2 separate regions of the Homo sapiens genome follow, and region 1 is linked to region 2. The links are contacts of gene promoters, found by promoter capture Hi-C in human tissues and cell types (Jung and others, 2019). All regions are on one chromosome and are shown on one strand. The core of a region is centred on a gene start or on the middle of the fragment in contact, and the rest is flanking DNA. Distances in the headings are between cores, read along the strand shown. Region 1 holds the start of PSMC4 (proteasome 26S subunit, ATPase 4). Region 2 holds the start of RPS16 (ribosomal protein S16).

The links. The method cuts DNA at HindIII sites, captures the fragments that hold promoters and counts their contacts. A contact is called where the count stands out against the background at its distance.
Region 1: the fragment with the promoter of PSMC4 here is called in contact with the fragment with the promoter of RPS16 in region 2 in 1 of the 25 tissues and cell types used here (lymphoblastoid cells).

Annotation. Positions count from the first base shown.
Region 1 is chr19:39,968,050-39,973,052 of GRCh38, forward strand. It overlaps PSMC4 (proteasome 26S subunit, ATPase 4), which reads left to right and starts at 3,116. Exons shown (of 11, transcript NM_006503.4): 1 at 3,116-3,189; 2 at 4,097-4,195; 3 at 4,320-4,506. The coding sequence starts at 3,154. LOC124904720 (a long non-coding RNA gene) reads right to left here and starts at 2,922. Exons shown (of 3, transcript XR_007067260.1): 1 at 2,831-2,922; 2 at 2,305-2,387. RefSeq lists enhancers at 2,436-2,485, 2,986-3,375, 3,400-4,079. The HindIII fragment of the contact is 6,535 bases long and covers 1-3,238 here.
Region 2 is chr19:39,433,897-39,438,625 of GRCh38, forward strand. It overlaps RPS16 (ribosomal protein S16), which reads right to left and starts at 2,053. Exons shown (of 5, transcript NM_001020.6): 1 at 1,952-2,053; 2 at 1,711-1,812. The coding sequence starts at 1,999. RefSeq lists enhancers at 1,247-1,826, 3,490-4,258 and a silencer at 2,207-2,306. The HindIII fragment of the contact is 40,426 bases long and covers 1-4,729 here.

The DNA.
Region 1 (5,003 bases), core at 1,866-4,365, 540 kb after region 2:
GAGCCACCAATTCTCTTTGTAACTTAATGGAAGTGGCTTTCCCCTGTCTGCACCTCAGTTTCATTTGTAAAATGAGGAAAAGCAAACCTACCTCTGAGGGCTGTTATGAGATCATGGTTTGGAATTTTCCTGGCCAAAAGTGAATGCGCAAGTGGTGTCTCGTGTGACAACCCATGATCCATCCACCAAATAGAAAACAATGTCCAAACACACAAAATATCAAGAGTATACATACAAATGGTGGGAGTGTAAATTAATACAGTCTGACAGTGTCTACTAAAGCTAAACACATACCTGCCCTACGACCAGCAATTCCACACTTGGGTCTATTTTGTTTTTGTTTTTGTTTTTCTTTGGGAGGGGGATCTATTTTCAGAAGAAATGAATACGTAAGTTTGTCCAAAGAAATGTACTAGAATATTCATAGTGAGAGACAGGACTAGCTGGATTTCCTAGGCCGACTAAGAATCCCTAAGCCAACTGGGAAGGTGACCGCATCCACCTTTAAACAAGGGGCTTGCCACTTAGGTCACACCCAACCAATCAGGTAGTAAAGAGAGCTCACTAAAATGCGAATTAGGCAAAAACAGAAGGTAAAGAAATAGCCAATCATCTAACGCCTGAGAGCACAGAGAGAGGGACAATGATCGGCGGGATATAACCCAGCACTGGAGCCCGCAAGGCAATCCCCTTTGGGTCTCCTCCCATTTTATGGGAGCTCTGTTTTCACTCTATTAAACCTTGCAACTGTACACTCTTCTGGTCTGTGTTTGTTATGGCTTGAGCTGAGCTTTCGCTCACTGTCCACCGCTGCTGTCTGCTGCCATGGCAGCTGTGGCAGACCTGCCGCTGACTTCCACCCCTCCGGATCCGGGTGTCCACTGCACTTCTGATCCAGCGAGGCGGCACCCATTGCCGCTCCCAATTGGGCTAGAGGCTCACCATTGTTCTTGCGCGGGCTAAGTGCCCGGGGTTCCTCCTAATCGAGCTGAATAGAGCTATAACACTCACCGCATGGCCCAAGATTCCATTCCTTGGAATCCGTGAGGCCAAGAACCCCAGGTCAGAGAACAAGAGACTTACTGCCATCTTGGAAGCGGCCCACCACCATCTTGGGAGCTCTAAGAACAAGGACCCCCAGTAACAATAGCACTATAACACCCCTAAACTGGAAAATATCCAGTCTGAGGTATAGGGCATAGTCATAAAATGGAAACCATCCAGAATGAAAATGAAAGAACTATTTCTACACACGGTATGCATGAATCTCACAAAAACAACATTAACTAAAAGAAACCAAACACAGTACACAGAGTACTGGTCTAGAGAGAAGGAGAATTCAAAACAAACAAAAGTAACCCAGCTGTTACAAGTCAGGGCGAGTCCAGCCAGGCACAGTGGCTCATGTCTGTAATCCCAGCACTTTGGAAGGCTGAAGTGGGAGGATCATCTGAGTCCAGGAGTTCGTGACCAGCCTGGGCAACACAGCGAAACCCTATCTCTACAAAAAACATTTTAAAATTAGCAAGGCGTGGTGGCACACGCCTGTAGTTCCAGGTGCTTGGGAAGCTGAGGTATAGGATTGCTTGAGTCTGGGAGGTTGAACCTGGAGTGAGTAGTGATCTCACCACTGCACTCCAGCCTGGGCAACAGAGCAAGAATCTCTTTCAAAAGATATATTTTTAAAGGCTACATGGGGTGGGTCATGCCTGTAATCCCAGTGCTTTCAGAGGCTGAGGAGAGAGGATAGCTTGAGGCCAGCAGTTGGAGACTCTAGTGAGCTATGATCGTGCCACTGCACTCCAGCCTGGGCGACAGAGACTCTAGCTCTTAAAAAAAAAAGAAAAAAACAGATGAATGATAACCTTTAGAAGGGATCGGGAGGCCGGATGTGGTGGCTCACGCCTATAATCCCAGCACTTTGGGAGGCCAAGGCAGGCAGATCACTTGAGGTCAGGAGTTTGTGACCGGCCTGGCCAACATGGTGAAACCCTGTCTCTACTAAAAATACAAATATTAGCCTGGGCAACAGAGTGAGACTCCGTCTCGGGGCGGGGAGTGGAGGGGGGAGAAGAAGGGATGGGGGAAAGGGGAGCACATGAGGCTTCTACTGTTTGGTTTTGCGATCTGGATTCAGGTTGTATGGGCATGTTCACTTTGTGTAATTTTGTCGAGCTGTAATGATTTGTGCTCTTCTCTTTATTTAACTTCAATAAAAGGTTTACTTAACAAAAATTGTAGCTGGTGTGAAGGGTAGCAGTGTTTCCCTGGGGCCAAGAGTACAGGCTTTGGGGACAGACAGACCTGGGTCCCAATCTATGCTTTGTCCCTTCGGCACATTGTTGACTGTGGCTGGTGGCTTCGTGGCTCTGAGCTTGTCTCCTTCTCTATAAATGAGGAAACATAATACTTGCGACGATGATGCCTGTAAAGCTTAAGCGCAGGACCTGGCATAGATCTGTAAGGCGGAAACCTGGGATACAGAACTAAGGTCTATGGATCTCCTGTGCTACCCAACTTCTGGGCACTCGCTGCCTCCTTTTCCCCAGCCCAGACGCGTGGGTTCTACTCGATTGGTTGCTCACTGCGGGCTCGGGGCTCCTCAATCCCGGGGTAAAGCCCAGTATGAAATGTCACCTTCAGGGGCAGCTCGGATCTTCCCACGCCCGCGCGGCGCACAATCTTTGGATCAGCGCCACGTGGAGACCTTACCCGCCCGTACGATCAATCCCTTCTGTGGAACCCAGCTCAAGGACCCTCCAGCCCAGACACTAGAAAGCGAAGAGCAGTTGGCCGCCAGACTGTCCGTGCCAGAGCTCTGCGAACTTACTCCGTTGAAAGAGCAACGGGGCTGCGCCACCTCCCGGAGAGAACCCCCAGCCCTCCACGGCAGGGCGAGATGGCGCCACCGCGTGATACTGCGCACGCCCACAGCTCCCGTCCCGCCCTCGCGCCTGCGGGTACGGACAGCGCATGAGCTTATGTTGAGGGCGGAGCCCAGACCAGCCCTTCGTCCTATCCTGCCCTTCCAGCACCTCTCAGCCGTAACTTAAACTACACTTCCCAGAAGCCTCCTCAGCCAGGGACTTCCGTTGTCGTCAGCGGAAGCGGTGACAGATCATCCCAGGCCACACAGAGGCCGGCTTGGTCACTATGGAGGAGATAGGCATCTTGGTGGAGAAGGCTCAGGTACAGTGGGGACTTGGGCTTTTTAGTCCGGGCCGGGCTCGCGGGGAGAGGGTGAAGCCAGACCTGAGTGGGGGGAGGAATGGCTTCCAGGACCCCGGCCCAGGTTGGGGTTATTTTAGAGGCCTCGGTGGAGAGCTTTGTGCCATTCGAAGGCCTGTCTGGGTGGCCGAGTGATGGTAGGAGGTAAGGCTCAGAAAGCGGGGCTGGGGGAGTGAGTGACGTTAGTGGGTCTTTGAGACGGATTGATTTCGAACCCTGGCCGGTAGTGCTTAGTGAGGTCGGTGGCCCGGCGTTGGGATTGGGTCAGGCGGTGAGTGATATATGGGATCCCGCCGTGCGGCCGAGTGATCCCCGGGTCTGGGCTGCGGGGCTGACTGATGTTCAGGGCTTTGCTGATGGGGGTAATGGGGCGGGTAGTTAAGTATTATCTGTGGCTTGCCTGAGTGATATTTAGGTCTAAGGTGAGTTAGGAGACTGTGACATAAGGGATCTTTGAGGGGAAACTGGGGAATGTTGGGACTCGTTGAAGGCGCAGTCACTTTAACAGCCTATCTAGGAGAGCCATGTGACATTAGGAACCTCTTGAAGGGGATTGGGTGGCATTTGGGTCTGATAAGGAGTTGATGTGACGTTTAGATCCTAGTTGGGGGTTGTGTGACACTGGGGACATGTTATGAGTGGTATATGATAACATAAGATCTGTTTGAGGGGCAAGTTGACATAAAGAGCTTGTTTAGGTGGCCAAAAGGTTTCCAGGATCTATTTAGAGGGTCTTAAGATATCAGGGGTCTGTTAGGGGCTAAGTGACATCAGGGTGAAGTGGGGAGGGGAACAAACATTAGTGAAGTTGGGAAGCTTTCATGAGAGGACTGTCTTCTTCCAATGTGAGTTATCCCCTTTCGTCTAGGATGAGATCCCAGCACTGTCCGTGTCCCGGCCCCAGACCGGCCTGTCCTTCCTGGGCCCTGAGCCTGAGGACCTGGAGGACCTGTACAGCCGCTACAAGGTACATTCGACCCCCAACCCAGACCTTGCACAGGACCTGACATCTCATACTCTTCCCCACTTTCCACCACTCTCTGGATCAGCAAGTCTGGAGCCATCCCCTTCTGTCCCCTCTCTGCTCGCAGAAGCTGCAGCAAGAGCTGGAGTTCCTGGAGGTGCAGGAGGAATACATCAAAGATGAGCAAAAGAACCTGAAAAAGGAATTTCTCCATGCCCAGGAGGAGGTGAAGCGAATCCAAAGCATCCCGCTGGTCATCGGACAATTTCTGGAGGCTGTGGATCAGAATACAGCCATCGTGGGCTCTACCACAGGTGTGCTAAGGACACCTCATTCATTCATCTGTCCACTTAACAACTATTTCCTACCATGTGCTAGGCAGCAGCAAACAAGGCAGGGCAGTGCAGTGCAATGTTCTTCAGAGTATTTTGACTGATCGAAAGGTAGAAATACATACATATATATATATATACACATATATATATGTATATCTATGTTTTTTTTGTTTGTTTGTTTTTTGTTTTGAGACAGAGTTTTGCTCTTGTCCAGGCTGGAGTGCAATGGCATGATCTCGGCTCACTGCAACCTCCACCTCCCAGGTTCACACGATTCTCCTGTCTCAGCCTCCCAAGTAGCTGGGATTACAGGCATGGACCACCAAGTCTGGCTAATTTTTGTATTATTAGTAGAGACAGGGTTTCACCATGTTGGCCAGTCTGGTCTTGAACTCCTGACCTCAGGCGATCCACCCGCCTCACCCTCCGAAAGTGTTGGGATTACAGGCCTGAGCCCCACTGCACCTGGCCAGAAA
Region 2 (4,729 bases), core at 803-3,302:
CAAGGCCCTCTACAGACCCAGAGAAGAGGAAAGTCAAAAAAGCCAGATATGAGACTGCTGAAGTGGTGTTAAGAAATATAGGCAAGGTAAAGGGAACAAGATCTGGGCTCCCTCCTACTTGTGTCCCTCACTGGACCTCAGACACCCTACCTCTAAGACTGGTTCTTAGAAGGCTGAACAGTAAGGAGCATTCCAATAGCTTCTGAAACTCCCAAGGCTGTTTCAAGTAGTCGAAAGCCATCCCTGGACTGTTCAGGTGCCTTTTCTATTTCCCACCTGAGCTCTCTGCCCTTTCTTTGAGCCTCACAGGTTTCCAGAATTACAGTACAACCTGTCCCTGGTCCCTAGACCCTTCCCAGCTCCAGGTCTTTTACCAGTGCCTCTGTCTGGATACTTCCTTTACCTGCTTTCAGCTCACAGGTCTCCTTCCCCAGTTCTGACCACTTTGGATCAGCTTCTGGTATTGGGCCCAGTCCTTCTCCCCAACTAGGCTGGCAGGTCCATGAAGGCAAGACCTTAAGTCATCTGGATCACTGCTATGTCCCCAAAACTCAACAGAGGGTACACATACAAATCCTTCAAATACAGTGACAGCCAATAACAGTAACATTCAACATCTGCTACACAAAGGAAATCTCAGAATTTTTATTAAATTCTAGGCCAGGCATGGTGATCACACCTGTAATCCCAGTCCAGGCAGAAGGATCACATGAGACCAAGGACCAGCCTGGGCAATAAAGTGAGACCCCACGTCTACAGAAAAATATTTCTCAAATGAGCCAGGCGTGGTGATGTGCCTGTAGTCTTGGCAACCGAAAGGCTGAGGTGGGAGGATCTCCAACTCAGGAGTTTAAGGCTGCAGTTCATTAGGATTGTGCTATTGCACTCCAGGGTAGGTGACAGCAAGATACTGTTTTTAAAAAAGAACCTTATAACTCAAAAAAAATTTTTTTAACTGACCCTGCAATGTAGATATTCTTTCTTTTAAAAGTAGTAGAGTTCAGAAGGGGCAGAAATCAGACTCTGGTTTCTTTCCATTCTGAGCCAAAGAAATTGAGAGTCCCAAAAAGGGAACAGAGGAACCCCTTTTACAAGCAAGCATTTAAACAGACCCAAATTCGGCCGCACACGGTGGCTGACGCCTGCAATCCCAGCACTTCGGGAGGCCGAGGCTGGTGGATCACCTGAGGTAATGAGTTCGAGACCACTCTGGCCAATATGGCGAAACCCCGTCTCTACTAAAAATACAAAAATTAGCCGGGCGTGGTGGTGCATGCCTGTAATCTCAGCTACTCAAGAGGCTGAGGCAGGAGAATCGCTTTAACCCGGGAGGCGAAGGTTGCAGTGATCCGAGATCGCGCCACTACACTCCAGCCTGGGCGACACAGCGAGACTCCCTCTCAAAACAAATAAATAAAATAAAAAATAGTCGGTGTCCCTTCACCCTTTGGGTCCCCCCGCCCCAGTGAGGTGAGCTTCCTAACATCCCAGTTCTCAAAGCAAACCCTTAATCTTCAACAACCCCATCTCAGCTTTTACATCTTCTGAACCCCAAGCCCAGCTCTATTGCCAAATACCCCACTGTTCTACACCCAACACAACTTCTAAACATCCCGTTGCTGATGCCAGCCCCCCCAGCTTTCAAGAGCTACAACATCTCTGTCTCCAAGAGTCCTCCATCCACTCAACGCCGGTGCCGGATCCCAGCACCTTGTACTGTAGCGTGCGCGGCTCAATCATCTCCAGGGGCCGCCCGTTCACCTTGATGAGACCATTGCCGCGTTTGCAGTGCGCCACAGCTGTCGCTGTCTTCTGTAAGATACAAGAGAAACAGGGGCCCCGTGAGCTCCGGCTCCAGCTCCCATGTTACCCCCTAGATTCCTGCCCACCGACCTCTCCCAGACCCTGGCCTTCTCCTTCCCCTCCCCTTCCCATCCGGCGTCTGGCTCACCTTGCGTCCGAAGACCTGCACAGACTGCAGCGGGCCCTTGGACGGCATGGCTCCGAGCGTGGACTAGACAACCTCACCGCGCGGCGCCGCAACCGGAAAAGGAAAGCTAGGGGCCACCCTGGCCGCTTTTCAGGGTCTGCGCAGGCGCCTTGAGCACTGCGTCGCGACGGGAGAGAGCTTTACGGCTTCTGTTGCGGCTAACGGGCGGGGCGTCTGGTCAGCGGCGGGAAGGCCCTTAGGCGCTCAGAGCGGGCGGGCCCTGTGAGGCGGAAGTGGCGGGCTCTGTGGGCGGAAGGGGCGGGGCCTGGGAGTGTCGTGTGCGGACTGAAGGGAAGGCTGCGGGAGTGTGCTTCGCGTCCTCTGTAGTCGACTACCGCAGCTCTTCTTTGCATTCTGGCTCTTTAATAATCTCCCTTCGCCCTTTCTTTAAATCAGTTCCCACCCTCCCAACACCTGTAATCTTTCTCCCCTCTGGACTCCCTCCTCCCCGAATCCCCCGCATCAGAATCTTCCTTTGGAATCTACTGCAAGAAATCTGGCTGGATTCTCAGATTAAGGACTTCCAGAATCCTATCCTCCCTAGAATCCCCCTCCTTGGGGATCCTCTCCCAGAATCCTTTTCCCCTCAGAGCCCCTTCCCCTCAGAATCTCCCTTTCACCAGAATGTCCTTCCTTTCAGTTTCCTCTTCCCAGAATGTTTCCCATCCTTCTCTCAGATGGCCAACCCCAAATGTCCCTCTTAAGAGTGCTCAACTTAGACCCCCCTTTTCCCTGAATCTCCCTCCATTCGGTCCTCGTCCCCTCAGTCACCCTTCCCAGAATCTTTCTCTTGTCAGGACCCAGTACCCCTGGAATCTCCCTCCTCCAGAATCTCCCTTTCCCGGCAAATCCCCCTTTCCCGGCAAATCCCCCTTTCCCAGAACACCCCGCCCCGCAAATCCACAAAAACTTTTCTCTCAGAGACCCGTCCCTCAAAATCTACCTTTCTCCTGAGTTTATTTCCCTTCCGAGACTCCTCTTCCCAGCAACTGCCTTCCCTGGAGTTTTCCCTCCGTTAGAATCCCCCTCTCCTAAGAGACCCTCCCCCAAGAATTAACCTCTTCCCCGTCCCCACCCTAGAATCTCTCTCTTTTTTTTGAGACGGAGTTTCGCTCGTTGCCCTGGCTAGAGTGCAGTGGTGCGATCTCGTCTCACTGCAACCTCCGCCTCCCGGGTTCAAGAGATTCTCCTGCCTTAGGCTCCCGAGTAGCTGGAATTACAGGCGTCTACCACCACGCCCTGGTCGTTTTTTGTATTTTTAGTAGAAATGGGGTTTCACCACGTTGGCCAGGCTGGTCTCGAACTCCTGACCTCAGGTGATGTGATCCGCCTCAGCCTCCCAGAGTCCTGGGATTACAGGCGTGAGCCACCACGCCCGGCCGAATCTCTCTGTTTTTTGTTTTTTTTTTTTCTTTTTTTTGAGACAGAGTCCTGCTCTGTCGCCCAGGCTGGAGTGCAGTGGCATGATCTCTGCTCACTGCAACCTCTGCCTCCCCGGTTAAAGCGATTCTCCTGCCTCAGCCTCTTGAGTAGCTGAGATTACAGGCATGCACCACCACGCCCGGCTAATTTTTGTATTTGTAGTAGAGACGGGGTTTCACCATATTGGCCAGACTGGTCTCGAACTCCTGACATCAAATGATCCACTCATCTCAGCCTCCCAAAGTGCTGGGATTACAGGCGTGAGCCACCGCGCCCAGCCCCTAGAATCTCTTTCTCCAGAATCTCCCAGTCATCTTTTTCCTCTCCCCCAAATCACCCTCCACTTAAGCCTCCTCCCCACAGAATTCTCCATCCCCAGCCCCCCAACCCCACCTGAGGAACCCCAGGATTGGGTTGTCCTCTGGTTCCCCGGCAGATGTCCCTGCGTCTCACCCCATCAAGAGTCTCCCCAGCGAAGAGGTTCCTCTCTCAGAGCTAGAGGGAGCCCACAGTTGCCTCAGTTTCTCTGGCAGTACAGGGTCTGGGATCCAGGGTTCAAAAGGGCGTCGTGGTGCACCTTGCCAAAGAGGGTGGAGACAGGGAGACACTGGAGGGCAGGTCTGGGGCCAGAGGGAAAAGCCAGCCCGGAGTCCAGCTCTAAAAGGGTGAGGGGGGAGGGGGCTGTTGGGAGGGAGGAAGGAAGTACCCAGAGGCTGACCGGGAGGGACACAGACACAGCCCAAAGAAATGTAGGCACAAGTGGAGAAGAAGAGAAAGATGAAAGGCCAAGGGAGAAGAGGAGGAGAAAAGGGAGAGACCAGGACAGTCAAGAGATGGACCCCCAAAACAAGCCCAGTGACAGATTTAGAGGCAGAGAGGCCAACCCTCAGACAAAAAAGAGATAAAGGCAGGCATGATGTTTCCAAAATACTTGAGACAGAGGCCAGGTGCAGTGGCTCACACCTATAATCCCAGCACTTTGGGAGGCCAAGGCAGCAGGATCACTCGAGCCCAGGGTTCAAGACCAGCCTGGCCAACATGGTGAAACCCCGCCTTTACTAAAAATACAAAAATCAGCTGGGCATGGTGGCAGGTGCCTGTATCCCAGCCACAAGGGAGGCTGAGGCAGGAGAACCGCTTGAACCCGGGAGGCGGAGGTTGCAGTGAGCTGAGATGTCGCCACTGCACCCTAGGCTGGGCGCCAGAGCAAGACTCTGTCTCAAAAATAAATAAATAAATAAACTCTGTCTCAAAAATAAATAAATAAAATAAAATAAATAGAGCAGAGACCTCAAATATTCACTTGCAGACACAGAT